2 separate regions of the Homo sapiens genome follow, and region 2 is linked to region 1. Evidence: promoter capture Hi-C in human tissues and cell types (Jung and others, 2019). All regions are on one chromosome and are shown on one strand. Each heading gives the region's core, a stretch centred on a gene start or on the middle of the fragment in contact. The rest is flanking DNA. Distances are from core to core; before and after follow the strand shown. Region 1 holds the start of OXTR (oxytocin receptor). Region 2 overlaps RAD18 (RAD18 E3 ubiquitin protein ligase).

Region 1 (2,700 bases), core at 1-2,500:
CCGCGTTTCTCTTCCGACGCGGGTAGGGCGTGCTTGTCCCATTCCCAGGAACCCAACTCATCTGAAACAACAGGGCACAACCGCCGGCCTCGGGTTGCTCAGCCGCCACCCCAGAAATCCCCGTTGGAGGTACCTCCTCTGAGCCACTGCAAATGAGCGGGAATCCTCTACCGGCCACAAGCCCAGAGCCCCCAGCGTGCCAGTTCCTCGGGATGTTCAGCGGCTTCCACTGGGGGAGAAGGGAGGGTCAAAATCAGCAACGTTCCTCCGGGAGTGGGAATCTAAAACCAAATCACCTCCCCGAGGGAATCTCCAAACTACCTACTCGCCCCAGGCTCCGACCCTCAGCATATCCACCTGCCGCGGGACCCCCAAACCAGCCCCTCTCCTAGTAAACATTAATTCAAGTACTTCCTCCGGAAATCCCCAAATAGCCACTTGCCTGGGAAACCCCAGCTCTGGTCCTTCCCCGTCTAACCCCCTTTTCTAAGACGGTCGGCCGTCACTCCCTGAACTTCCACAGCACCTGCTTCGGTGGAAACCCGGTTCTGCAGTCCCTGCTGGGGGAACCCCTGCCTCAAAGCCCAAGATGCCCAAGCGCTGTTCCCAGACCCTGGCATAGACACCTCCCGCGGGGCTCCTCCCCAGCCCGGCAGCCTCGAAAGTTCTGGAACCCCTGACTTGCGCTTTGGACCCAGATAATCAAGGACTCTGAGTCTCAATCCCGAGAAGTCACTTTACAATCTCTCGGAACACCCCGAGCTCCTCCAGGAACAAGGAGTGCGAGGCACCCCACCACCTCCACTCGGGTCCCGATGGCTCCACCGGCCCTAGCCATCCCGTCCACCCCTGCTTAGCACCCAGCTACCTGCACCGAGTCCGCAGGCGAACCTAAAGTTGACTCCCCCCGGGGAAGTTGCACGGCGACTGACGGCCCCAGTGACGCGTGCGCTCCCGGCCCGAGTTGGGATGGCCTGCCGGCTGCACCTAATGTGATGCTAAGCTGAGGTCTCTCACTGGAGCCTCGGTTGGAATCCCCTCGCCGCAGCCTGGCTGGTCGCTGGATGGGTACAGGAGGCGAGCGAGGAGCGCCTCCCAGGCTGCGCGCGCGGACAGCGTCTGGATGCGGCGCTGTGCGCTGGGGCTGAGGCTGCACTATCGCACGGGTCCGCTAGGGGGCGGGCGAGGCCAGCCGCGCAGACCCCTCCGGAGCGGAGCTGGTTCGCCCAGCGTTGGTCCCAGAGCCTTAACAAATGGGTTTATTTTGCAGTGGTTTAAAACTGCGAGAGGGAGGGAACTCGTCAATAACCCGCCCGTTTCTTCCTTTCTTGGTTTAGAAGCTCTTGACTCCGAGACACATAGGAGGCTTGAATAATAATGTTCTTCCCCGGGTAGATAGTGATGAAGTTACAAAAGCATTTAAACTGATTATTTCCCAAAAATGATGTTAATTTTCAGGCTTTTCTCTCCCCCCACACCTCCAGCTTGATGTAGCGGCTTTAGCAGTGAACTCAAATAAGTCTTTGCTTTGGAATACTTTTGTTCCTATTCCCGTTAATGAGGAATTAGAAATGGCCTCTATTCTAAGCAGTGCTGGGAGAGGCGTTATTTTTTCGGTAGTTTTAGAGGAAATTCTGAAGCACAACACTGTCTTCATTTAAAGTGATTCTGCTTGTCTGCGCCCAAGAGCCGTTTCTGCCTCCTTGTCGCGCTTCGGAATTAAAATTCTAAATGATGCCAAAGGAAGATAAAATGTTAAAGACAGCTTCTCAGCCTCCCTGCCCCTTCTCTATTCTAAAATCATTTTTTGAAGTAATTTACAGTGGCCAAGAATTAAGTCAGAAAAAAAGGCCAGGATTCAAAAATAAACAGGGCTCTTTAAAATGCATTAAATGTGTATTTCCTCCTGACATTTCACTTCTCCGTCTTTTTATTATGTGGAGAGACTTGAGTTAGCCAAGGACTGGGTTTCCTTAATCCACAATTACAGCCCCATGCCGAGATATCCCAGGGGCCAACCTTACAGCACCTGGATCCCAGGGTTCTAGCTGAGTAATCATTCCAGAATGGGGCTGGGAATCTTGACAGCATTGCCAAGGGGTGGCAGGCAGTATTAATCAATATTAGTCAATAGTACCTATCGGCCTCGAAAATTACAGATTAAAGTTACAGACGACTCAGGTGAGAATGAAGTGACCTTGGGCAAGCCCCTTCTCTTTGGGCCTCAGTCTCCTCATATGTAAAATGAGAGCACTGGTCAAGATAGCTAATGTCTGAGGTCCTGTCCCTCTGGTTTTCTGAAACTGTATAATCTGTGCAATCTGAGGGTTCAATCCTAGCAGGTAAAACACCCCTGCCTCACTCCACGGCTGGATGAAGGCAGATTTTTCCCTATGAGCCCCTGACCGGTGAATGTGAGAAGGAAAACACTGGCCTGTAGAACCAAGCCTGCCCTTCTTTCTCCTGGAAGACAGCTGCTTTCTAGGGAGCAAGTTTACTGAGCCACTTCACCAAGGACAGACTCTTCTACCCTTTGTAGGGAAGCCTGCCTACCTGTGTGGTCCTCGCGTAGCCCGTGAGACAGCCTAATTCTGGATTCACCTAACAGGGCTATTTAGTCTCATGCAAAAGGTAAATTCTCTAACTTAGTTTTAATCTAAACAACAACAATAACAACAACAGTAATAGTGTGATCCCCAT
Region 2 (2,700 bases), core at 113-2,612, 120 kb after region 1:
CTTAAGGTACTGTTTCTCAAGCTTTTAAAACTATCATCTTCCTAAGCAGCCTTTTTACACTTTTCCCCCAATCCCATGAAATTTTAATACCACAAATATGATGTCTGTTTGTTCATGTGTTGAGATACACATACACGCACATGTATAAAGCATATATATATAAAATATATATATATATATATATATCTGTGTTTTATGCATACACACAGTAACCTTTTTACCCACTTCCCACCCCCACGAAAAACAAAATTCCACCCTTTGGGGGTGATACTGCTCCTACTGAAAACCCACGAGCTAGGGAAATGGGAGCTGCGGAGGATCACGTAGTTCTGGGGCCTGGCAGGGGTCACAGAGTTGGAGAAAGAGTAAAGTAAGCTTCTTGCCAACACCCCCCTGTGCTCCACAACACACACAATTTTTTTTTTAAACAGGAAGGTTACAAAGCATCTCTACTATTCTAGCTAAGAAAGGAGGATGGCCAAGCCTGTCAACTAACCTAGTAGAGTCTGTGATCAATTTACCTAGGGGCTTTCAAATCACCAGCACAAATCACTGATTTGTTAAAGGAAAACATTTGCAGTACACTAATGACATAAATCTAAGAGGTTTTTGCTATGCTACCTCAGTGAAAACAGATGTTAGAGGTGGTTAACAAAAAACACATCTCAGAAGTTGCCTGCAATCTCCTCTTCCTCTGTGACTTCAATGTCACTGCCCAGCCAGGCTGCACAGCTCCCTGGTGTCTTCAATTCCCATTATCTTTCCTTCTGCCCCACCTCAGGCACTCACCTGAATGATAACCAAATCACTAAATGGACTGATACAAAATTTGGGAGGTTCAGAATTTTATCTAAAATGAAGTTTCAGGATTATCTGCTATATCTGCTGTTCCAATTCTAGTCACCACTGAAAAACACAGTTGATGCTAATACAATTAAAATACCAGACAGAACTGCTCATTCCTTTTTCAAGTAATGTGCTTATTACCATATCTGCTCAAAAACCACATTCCTAAAATTAAACATAGTTTCACAAATAGGATTTTACAAAAAGACACTTAGGTATAGCAGTCAGTGTTACTAAAATTATCACTCAGATCGCTTCCCTGGGGATAAAAGCAATTAATATTTTTGAAGTCTTAGTCATTTTAATATGCCTTGAGGATCAAAAATTCCTTTAACATTCTTTCAAGACATTTAAAAAATCTTCCAAAGGAGAAAATTAATTACTCATTCTGATATTTCTGGGGTCAGAGCATATACAAGCCTACACAACTGCAGCTTTAAAGTCTAGAACGAGGAACTTTTTCAGCTTGTCTACTATTTGGTCTTGAAACATTCTGGAAGACCACGCTTCAAGAAGCTGGATGAATGTAAGGTTTGGTACATGAACGTTACAGCTCCCCTATGGAAGGGCATTCAAATGGCCCTCTCTGATGTCCCTACTGGTCCAGGCTACAGTGGATATTAATATATAGATTACACGTGAGAAAGACTCACTGGCAAAGATTCAAAATCGAATCTTGAATTCGATGGAATTCCCAACCTTGGTCCAGGAAGATATTAATAGGCTTATTTAGAACACCTGCAATTTATTTTTCACACCTTTTAGTCAGCTTTTAGCCTTATTTTCAGGTCAAAGTTGCAGAAATGTAAGCTAATTCTGTGTGTGTGCATGCACACACACATGCACACCTTGGCCAAGCTGGTTTTTCTGTAATATCTCACTCTTGTCATTCTCTGACGGAAAGTAGCACAGCTTCTTCAGCAAAGTAAAACACTATCTTCGCATATTCCTTTTGTAGCATCTTATTTCATTCTACTAGTAAAGAATTTACTACTGAAGCTGAAAAGTAAGATGTCAAATACCTACGGCAAATGTATGACTGGTAATGTTAGTTAGAGAAAAAACCCTCAGATTTCGGTGTCAGACAAAGTTAAGTTGAGGTCCCATTTCTGTTACTTACTGTGTAATTTTGGGCCAGTTACTTAACTTTCCTCTGTGTCAATATCCTCACATATAAAATCAGGATAATGATACATGTATTCCTTAGGGCTTTTTAAAAGCTTATTCAATATAACACATTAAATATTTAGCATAGAGCTTGGTACGCAGTAAATGTTCAACAAATGTCAGTTCCATTTTCATAAAACAGATTTGGGTCTGAATTATCTGAATAATTGCCTCAGCACCATGCTCCAATTTGCCCGAGAAAACCTGATTACTATGTGCTCTATTTTAATCTTTGATTTCCACTGTTTCTATGACACCAGGGTGTAAATTCATCAGAACCAGCATGGCAGGTACACAGGGTACTGCGGGGTAGGAAAAAACGCAAACATCTGCTATAAAAATCCTGAGGATTAAGGATTACCTACAAGTGGAATTTTTCTAGCATCTAGTAGTTACCTGCCCATATTTCTTCCCTTAATTGTGGCACTAATTTGAACGTGGTTGAGTATATCCAATTTAAAACAATAACTCTTCAAGGGTAGATCACTGGAGGATCAATGCAGGACAACATGCCTACCAGACAATGGTACTTAAATAAATTCTGTCAGCTACCATGAATCTTCCCTCAAACCCCTATTTTTAGTAATCTGTAAGACAAACAATAGCTTATATGCCAAATATTTTAGCAGTTGGCTAACGTATTAGAATAGTAAAGTTCCAGGTTCCAAAAAACTCATTCAATTATGA

What was found. The method cuts DNA at HindIII sites, captures the fragments that hold promoters and counts their contacts. A contact is called where the count stands out against the background at its distance.
Region 2: a fragment that was not itself captured here is called in contact with the fragment with the promoter of OXTR in region 1 in 5 of the 25 tissues and cell types used here (adrenal gland, bladder, heart right ventricle and 2 more).

What each region holds. Positions count from the first base shown.
Region 1 is chr3:8,768,363-8,771,062 of GRCh38, forward strand. OXTR (oxytocin receptor) reads right to left here and starts at 1,251. Exons shown (of 4, transcript NM_000916.4): 1 at 869-1,251; 2 at 134-229. RefSeq lists enhancers at 47-718, 1,366-1,415. The HindIII fragment of the contact is 11,538 bases long and covers 1-2,700 here.
Region 2 is chr3:8,890,912-8,893,611 of GRCh38, forward strand. The region is part of intron 11 of RAD18 (RAD18 E3 ubiquitin protein ligase); the gene reads right to left. Among named protein-coding and RNA genes, the nearest start is that of RAD18, 71 kb to the right of the region's middle. The HindIII fragment of the contact is 5,103 bases long and covers 1-2,700 here.